Regions from separate parts of the Homo sapiens genome. Here region 2 is linked to region 1. The links are contacts of gene promoters, found by promoter capture Hi-C in human tissues and cell types (Jung and others, 2019). All regions are on one chromosome and are shown on one strand. The core of a region is centred on a gene start or on the middle of the fragment in contact, and the rest is flanking DNA. Distances in the headings are between cores, read along the strand shown. Region 1 holds the start of HELT (helt bHLH transcription factor). Region 2 overlaps LINC02436 (long intergenic non-protein coding RNA 2436).

Evidence for each region. The method cuts DNA at HindIII sites, captures the fragments that hold promoters and counts their contacts. A contact is called where the count stands out against the background at its distance.
Region 2: a contact is called between a fragment that was not itself captured here and the fragment with the promoter of HELT in region 1, in 3 of the 25 tissues and cell types used here (H1 embryonic stem cells, aorta and liver).

Annotation. Positions count from the first base shown.
Region 1 is chr4:185,016,963-185,021,286 of GRCh38, forward strand. HELT (helt bHLH transcription factor) reads left to right here and starts at 1,528. Exons shown (of 4, transcript NM_001300781.2): 1 at 1,528-1,993; 2 at 2,425-2,529; 3 at 2,785-2,881; 4 at 3,311-3,991. The coding sequence starts at 1,967. The coding sequence ends at 3,810. RefSeq lists enhancers at 778-1,358, 1,359-1,937, 1,938-2,517, 3,232-4,159, 4,160-4,324. The HindIII fragment of the contact is 22,587 bases long and covers 1-4,324 here.
Region 2 is chr4:185,061,265-185,065,905 of GRCh38, forward strand. All of the region lies in intron 3 of LINC02436 (long intergenic non-protein coding RNA 2436), which reads left to right. Among named protein-coding and RNA genes, the nearest start is that of LINC02436, 12 kb to the left of the region's middle. The HindIII fragment of the contact is 4,120 bases long and covers 1-3,495 here.

The DNA of each region.
Region 1 (4,324 bases), core at 278-2,777:
GTGGCTCTAGAAAGGGCCATAAAACAAAAATCATTTTTATCGTTTCAATCTGCAAGAAAGCTCACCCCCCACCCACACCCCACAAGCTCAGAGCCCCCAGAGTATAGGATCCGAGGCAGCAAGTGTGAGCGAGGCCCGTCCTGGGGGAGGTGGCCTCTGGCCGCGGGGCCAGGTTGCCCTCAGAGGCGCAGGCGGCCAAGAGAGTTCCCAGCCGCCGCCGCCCCCCTCCTTCCCCTTGGGCCCGTCCAGCAAATTTCCTCCCTCGTTTCTGTTCGTGCCTTCCCTCCCTCCTCCTCCCCCCGATATTTTCGCTTTCTAAAACCATAAAAAAGAGATCAACTTCCCAAACTTCACAGGGCCCTTTTCAGTGACAAATATTGATGCCCAAAGTGTCTGCGCTCTCCCGCCCCCAAACGTTAAGAAAAGACGCCAGCGAAAGGGAGACATAAAAAGTTAACAATGCTGTGAAAATATGTTTGCAGAAAATAGACAATCGTTGGATTAAACGTATTCAAGTATGAAATAATGCCTTTTTGTGTCAAAACTTGGGCGATGGGCGGGTACAAAAGTTCCCTGTGGCAGCTACTTGCTCCCTTTGTGAGCCGTGCGCTTTGGCGTCTCCACTTGGGCGCATTACTCAGAGCCCTCTAAGCGCGATTGTTTCTCCCTTTCTAATGACATTTACCGGATCAAAACATGCTGTTAATTCGATCAGAAGGCTTCACCCTCCCTGACAAAGCCACAATAATTTCTCCTGAAGTTTGTTAAATTGACCAAAATTAGGCAAATGAATAGGGGTCTGTAGGCGCCCCCTCTCGCAGGTGACGTTGCATAATGCTTGCCTGGGCCAGCTGCATTCCCCCTTTTCTTCTCGGCCCACTCTTCTCCGTGTTGCCCCCCAATCCTCCCACCCGCCCCTTCACACACAAACACACACACACGCCCGCCAGTCTCTCCTCCCCCACCCTCTGGCATTATTAAAATTTAGCCCAATGAAACTATTCATACTTTTCAATGGACATTTTCGTATAGGATAATAGGCTACAAATTGAGCCTCTTCCCCCCGCGAAGAGGGAGCAGGAGGGGTGGGGAGAAAAGAAAGCCAGCGACGTGGTCAGGGAGTAGGGGGGAGCGTCGCGTGCCAAACAGCGGCGGGAGGGGCGAGGCGAGGCGAGGCGGGAGCCTCGTGTGCCAGCCGCAGCCCCACACCTGCCGGGATGTCCGGACAAATAAAGCGGTGTAAACAAAAAGGGGGGAGAAGGACGTGTCACCAAGTCGTGTGAGAAAAGCCTGGGAACAAACGGGGCGCCTCCGTCTCCAAGAGCTCTCCCTTGAACCCGGCGGAACAGCCTATTAAAGGCTTACTTAATTACTTTAATGACTCTGGACAGGCTTTAAAACGCACTCGGCGCTGGGACGGCGGGCTTGCTGGGATTTGTAAACAGGCGATCATGTGAGACTCAGCGGTGGGACTAAAAGAGGCGACACTGTTTTGTGAGGGTCCTCGCCCCCCGGTGCCCGCGGCCGCTGCGCCCCTGCGCTCCGCGCCCGCGACTGCTGCAGGCGCTTGCTCGCCCGCCGGCCCCAGTTTACCGCCTCCTTTTCCCGCCCGAGCTGTTGCCATGCAAATGTTATTCCTGGGCCGATCACGTGTCCTTTGAAGGGCCACGTGGATTAACAAAGCTGATCTGCCCCCAGCTCGCCCCCCTCGGCTGCTAATTTTTTTTTTTTCTTAACTTCTTTAAAACTGATCTTGAATGCATACATCCTCCAAACGCAGCTCCCCTAATCCTATGGAATAATTCAACTCGTGAATGCATCTGGAGCCCTAGATGACCGCTTTATAAGGCAGCCCTCGGAGTTGGGAGGCTGCAGTCTACCTGGGACACTCGAGGAGGCACACGAGGCGGAAAAGTGGACGGGTGCCCCGCGCCACCGCCTCTCCCGAGGGCGCGTACTGACCAGGATGTCAGACAAGCTCAAGGAACGCAAAGTGAGTCGGCTGAGCCCAAATGGCACTTGCGCCCTGGTGGTGGAGGCATCTGACTCACCGACCCGCCACTTGGGTGGACCGATGGCAGGGAAGTGCCCGCACGGGACTTTGAGTGTGGAGGAATCTCGAGTGGTTTGGGAAGGGGGTGGGGTAGAGAGAGGAGGGTGCTCAACCAGGTAGAAGTCCTGCCTGGAGGCTGGCGGCCACCTCCCCAAAGGCCTGGGTAGGGTGGCTGGAAGGGGAGCGCGCCAGCGCGGGCGTCAGAAGGCAGAGCTCACCTGGCCCGAGCGTGGCGGGCCAGGAGTCCCTTCCTAGAGCGAATCTGAGCAGTGTGCGCGGCTGGAGAGGCGGCTTGCACCCAGCTGCTAGAGCCGCGCCTTTGACGACTTCCCGGGCAAAGCCATCCTAAACATACAACCCTCTCTTCGCAGAGAACCCCCGTTTCTCATAAAGTGATAGAAAAGCGGAGGAGGGACAGGATCAACCGCTGCTTGAACGAGCTGGGCAAGACAGTGCCCATGGCCTTGGCGAAGCAGGTAACGTTGGCGACCCGGAGCCGGGTGCCAGGCGTTGGGAGGCCTCTGCGGCCACTCTGCGGAGACGCCCGAGCCCGCGGACACAGAGGACCTCACTTGCGGGCCCCTCCCAGGCGGGGGGCCTGAGCGCAGGGCGAACCTCAGGAGGCTCTGGCGCAGATCCGCAGCCGCGTCCGCTCGCTGGTCCTCTCCAGCGCCACAGTGCCCGACCAGCAGGCGCTGGGCCGCTGCGAGGGGCCCTTCCTCCTTTTGCAGAGTTCCGGGAAGCTGGAGAAGGCGGAGATCCTCGAGATGACCGTTCAGTACCTGAGAGCACTGCACTCCGCTGATTTTCCCCGGGGAAGGGAAAAAGGTGGGCACAGGTTAGGGAATGGGACGCCTGGGCCAGGCGCCTGCGCCACCCAGAGACCCTGGGGCTGGGAGGGGAGTGACTGAGTGTTCCCGAGAGCTCTACTAGAGCTCCACTCTCCAGGAGGGCAGGGGTCCTGCGAAGGCGCCTCTCCCTGCTCGGCGACAGCAAGGCGGCGAGGGAGAACTGGTTCCCAGGGAGGCTGGTTCCACCTCCTTCTCCCGGGTGGGGTGGGTGGGGTCAGGCTCTCAGGGAAAGAGGGCGTTTGCGCGTGCCTCGCCAGTCTCTAAGACTGCGCAGAGGAGAGGGCGGGCCTCAAATGGGAACTTTGGCCAGAAAATGTGGTGGGAGGTGCCCTGCACCCGCTTTGGGCTCGCGTGGGGAAGGGGCACTCAGGGTGTGTCCGTCCTACGGGCTTTCTCGTTCCTCCAGCAGAACTTCTAGCGGAGTTTGCCAACTACTTCCACTATGGCTACCACGAGTGCATGAAGAACCTGGTGCATTACCTCACCACGGTGGAGCGGATGGAGACCAAGGACACGAAGTACGCGCGCATCCTCGCCTTCTTGCAGTCCAAGGCCCGCCTGGGCGCGGAGCCCGCCTTTCCGCCGCTGGGTTCGCTCCCGGAGCCGGATTTCTCCTATCAGCTGCACCCTGCGGGGCCCGAATTCGCTGGTCACAGCCCGGGCGAGGCCGCTGTGTTCCCGCAGGGCTCTGGTGCCGGGCCTTTCCCCTGGCCGCCTGGCGCGGCCCGCAGCCCCGCGCTGCCCTACCTGCCCAGCGCGCCAGTGCCGCTCGCTAGCCCAGCGCAGCAGCACAGCCCCTTCCTGACACCGGTGCAGGGCCTGGACCGGCATTACCTCAACCTGATCGGCCACGCGCACCCCAACGCCCTTAACCTGCACACGCCCCAGCACCCCCCGGTGCTCTGACGCCCACTCGCCCGCCAGATTTCTCCTCGCTTTGGGCGCTTTTAGGAGAAATGCTGTATATATTGTACACATAATGTGTAAATATTGTACCCCAAAAATCTGGGCTGGGGGAGGCAAAGAGCGAATGAGTCTTCTGAAGGATCTCCCCCTGGTAATAAACGTTTTCTGATAAAGACCCAAAGAGAGGGATTTATGTATTACCTTCTGCTCATCCACACCCGTCCCCTCCGCGGTGCCCAGGGCGCAAGGCTGACAGGGTTCAAGGTAACAGCCCTCAGTAACTTGGTGAGGGGCCCGCTGTGGAGTCTGAGGGAGGGGGACGTTAAATGGAGGTTCAGGCAGATATTCTAGGCATCGCTTAAGGGCGGGATTCGCGGCTTCCTGCACCCGCCCCATCTTGAGCATTAGCCTCAGAGAAACAGGGGAGGCGAAGAACACTGCCCTTGGCTCTCAGGAAAATGCAAATTGAAGGACCTGCCCCAAACTGACTTAGGCGGACCGTTGCCAGCTGCGA
Region 2 (4,641 bases), core at 186-2,685, 44 kb after region 1:
AAGACTTAAATCTAGAATATATAGAGAGCATTTACAATGACCAACACATAGAAAGTTCTTGCCAAATGACCAAATTTTTTATATGAGCAAAAGATTTGAATAGACATTTTCCCAAAGGTGAAATGTCAATGTCTAATATATGAAGAAAAGATGCTCAAAACTATTATTCATTAGGGAAATGCAAATTAAAACCAGAAGAAGATACCTCTAGACACCCACTAGGATGGCTATGATGAAAAAGACAGACAATAACAAGTGTTGTTAAGGAAACAGGGAAATTGAAACCCTTATGTATTGCTACTAGGATTGTAAAATGGTACAGACACTTTGGAATGCAGTTTGGCAGTTTCTTAAAAACTTAAACAAACGAATAATACAACCCAGCAATTCTATTTCTAAGAATCTATCAGAAAAATGAAAATCCATGTCCACACAAAGACATGTACACAAAAGTTTATAGCACTATTATTCATGCTAGTCAAAAACTGGAAACAGTCTAAATAGCTATCCACTGATGAATGAATATGCAAAATATGGTACATTCCTACAATGGAATACTATTCAGCAATGAAAAGGAATGGATTTCTTTACATGCTACAACATGGATGAACTTTAAAACCATTAAGCGCAAGAAGTTAGACACGAAATACATACTGCATAATTGATTCCATTTATAGGAAATATCTAGTAAAAACAAACTTACAGAAGCAGAAAGCAGATGGAAATGTTCTAAAACTGGTTTGTGGTGGCAGTTCCACAACTCAACAAATTTACTAAAATCACTTACAATGGGTGAATTTTATCATACGTAAATTATACTTCAATAAACCTCCTTGTAAAATCACACGACTATTAAACGGTAGCACAAGTTGTAAAGAAAGTTATCTTCAAAGACCTATGATTAGTAAACCTACTCAAAGACATAGGATGTAGAATATATAAGTTGGTGCTGGAGTTCCTCCACCTCCCTAAAAATTAACAAGAAGCTTATTTGGGGGATTGTATTAAACAATCATACTTTAGTTAATTCTTTCATTAAAGGCCATTAGTTATTTTATAGCCTTTTACTGTGTTTTAGATGTCTCACAGTTTTACGTCAGTCTATTATATTCCCTGAAGACTTTGTTAAATATATACAGTGGATGTATTTTTGTGATTTTAGTTTAAATTTGCTTTATATGAATTCTTACAGTTGAAAACATTCAAGTACGGAATAAACTATTACTGCGAATACGCTCATATGACACAAGAACAATCTCTGAGCTTCTTTGAGGATGTCCAGATGACTGCTGACTGCACTAATTGCATCAATCGTGTATCCATACAGGTTCTTTCTATAAAATAGTGGTCGCTAGTTATGAGGCGTTAAGCCTTCATGGATATAAACAGACTATTCCACCTAAGTGATCTGGCAGAAGCTTAGTTTTCTACCACAACATCCACCGTCCTCCCTCCCTCCCTTCCTAGCTGGTCAGAAAAGCTACTCAGAATAAAGACTACATTTCCCAGCCATCTTTGCAGCTAGGTTTATCCACCTGACTAAATTCCACCGGTAAGATAAAAGCAGAAGTGTTTTTTTGTTTGTTTGTTTGTTTGTTTGTGACGGAGTTTTGTTCTTATTGCCCAGGCTGGAGTGCGATGGCACAATCTCGGCTCACCGCAGCCCCTGCCTCCTGGGTTCAAGTGATTCTCCTGCCTCAGGCTCCCGAGTAGCTGAGTTTACAGGCGTGCGCCACCACGCCCAGCTAATTTTGTATTTTTAGTAGAGACGGGGTTTCTCCATGTGGGTCAGGCTGGTCTCGAACTCCCGACTTCAGGTGATCCGCCCGCCTCAGCCTCCCAAAGTGCTGGGATTACAGGCGTGAGCCACCGCGCCGAGCCTAAGCAGAAGTGTTTGCAAGTGCCCTGAGAATCGTGCTTAAAGGGAACAGACTCAGCTAGAAAGAAGCCCTTTCCACCATTCCACCTTTTCCCCTTCTTCAGGCCTGCCACAAGAATACGAAGGCCAGAGCTCCAGCAGCTGTTGGAGCCACGATGTGACCCTGAAGGCAGGAAACTCAGCTTTGGAAGGTAGAGAGCCTGGGTAATACCTGGAGCCGCCACATCAGCATGGGCTGCTGCCTCCATTCTTCTCTTATGGAACAGAAAAACATGCTTCTGTCCTGTTTAAGACATAGGGGCCAAGTTTCTTTTACTCACACAGAGCCTCATCCTAAGTGACACAAGGTCTAACAGAAAAAGATCCAATGGAATCCTTTCTCTAAGGAATGAGCGGAGAGAGGAGAGCAAGGCAATGAAGTTCTTTTTTTTTTTTTCCAGATGGAGTTTTCGCTCTTGTCGCCCAGGCTGGAGTGCAATGGCACAATCTCGGCTCACGGCAACCTCCATCTCCTGGGTTCAAGCAATTCTCCTGCCTCAGCCTTCCAGCCTCCCAAGTAGCTGGGATTACAGGCATGCACCACAACGTCTGGCTAATTTTTTTGTATTTAGTAGAGACAGGGTTTCACCATATTAGTCAGGCTGGTCTCGAACTCCTGATCTCAAGTGATCCACCCACCTTGGCCTCCCAAAGTGCTGGGATTATAGGCGTGAGCCACTGCACCTGGCCGGAAGTGAGGTTATACAGCAGCATGTCTGTGAGGCCTCAGCAGAGAGGTCCAGTCACACTCAGTAGCCATGGTTAACGACTACACCTGCTATGCTGGAAACCACCTCAATAACGAGATTCATAGAACTATACTTAATAACTGCTCCCTAGTGATACAGCAAAAGGTGAATACATACACATCAAATGTTCACGTCCCAAATCTGGTTTATTTCTTCCAACATAAAGATTGGAGAATTATTGTAAGGTGAAAGCTAAGTCCATCAAGGAGTCCCTGAAATGCTGATCTAATCAGAAGAAGCTTCTTAAAATTCTCAAACTCTGCAGTTTCTTAAAATTCTTAAAAATACAGTGCTTGTTGACCATATGTAAGATGAATATATTATCTAGATCCTCTGTCTTTTCTCTGAATTATGTACCACTCAGACTTAGACTCACCAAGACCTACATGTGCTAGGCCTCTCACGTGCTAGTTAATGAACATAATATAGTAGCTATCTTAATGCCATGTGCAGATAAATGTTTCATGATTTTTTTGTGTGAGAAAAATGTGAATTTTTTTTTTTTTTTTTTTAGGCAGGACCTTGCTCTGTCACCCAGGCTGTAGTGCAATGGTGTGATCTCAGCTTACTGCAGCCTCAACCTCCTGGGCTCAAGTGATCCTACCACAGCTTCCTGAGTAGCTGGGACTACAGGTGTGTGCCACCACACCTGGTTAATTTATTTTATTTTATTTTTGTAGAGATAGGGTCTCACTATGTTGCCCAGGCTGGTCTTCAACTCTTGGCCTCAAGTGATTCTCTTGCCTCAGCCTCCCAGAGGGCTGGGATTATAGGCATGAGCCACCACGTCCAGCCTAAATGTGATGAGTTTTAGACCTATGATAATGGTTTGCTGGTGGTAGTACAGGGCAGATAATGCATATGCCAGTATCTTCAGTGAGGAATTGCTGCAAAGCATAGGTGGGTTCACTGGTGGAATAGAGTGTGGATTGGTAGTTTGGGCTCTAGTGCAGATGTATTGCCAATTTTAGGCTTAGAGATCTAACAAACATACTTAGATTCACACAAACATTAATTCCTGCCCTCATATCATATGGCCGGCTCTCAAGATGATGCCGAAGAAAGACAAGAAGCATATGTGGTCAACATGGAAGTTTAATTTGGACCTTACTCATTCAATAGAAGATGGAACTTTTGATTCTGGAAATTTTGAACAGTTTCTAAAAGGTTAAAATCAATGGAAAAACTGAAAATCTCACAGATGTTGTTAACAGTGAATGCTTCAAAAATAAAATCACAGTTGTTTCTGAGAAACAATTTTCTAAAAGGTCCTTAAAATGCCTCACCAAGAAATACCTTAGGGAGAACAATCTTCGTGATTGGCCTTGAGTGGCTGCATCCTGCAAGGAGCCTCACTGACCTCACTGCCTCCCCATCAGTCACAGTGAAGATGGGTGAGCCTGAGGAGCAGGTAAAGCTTCCTTCCAGGGCTTTGCTTACCAATACAACAAATCGAGCATACACGAGAAAGAAACATCTAGAAATTGACTTTCAGTTTATTGGTGAATAAAAACATTGTACTCTTTAAAACATTAATTCCTGAAATTAATCTTCCTTAGAAGCCTCATCTTTCTTGAGTCTCAAATTTCTTCCCTGTTCCAGAAAGAAAGTGGACAATATGACCTCTGCGGTTCCCTTGCTGAGGATATGAATTCTCTTCTGGAAGTGACCAAAACATAAAAATATAAATTAAAATAGTGCATATACGGCTGGGCGCGGTGGCTCACGCCTGTAATCCCAGCACTTTGGGAGGCCGAGGTGGGCGGATCACGAGGTCGGGAGATCGAGACCATCCTGGCTAACACGGTGAAACCCCGTCTCTACTAAAAATACAAAAAATTAGCTGGGCGAGGTGGCGGGCACCTGTAATCCCAGCTACTCAAAAGGCTGAGGCAGGAGAATGGCGTGAACCCGGGAGGCGGAGCCTGCAGTGAGCCGAGATCGCGCCACTGTACTCCAACCTGGGCGACAGCG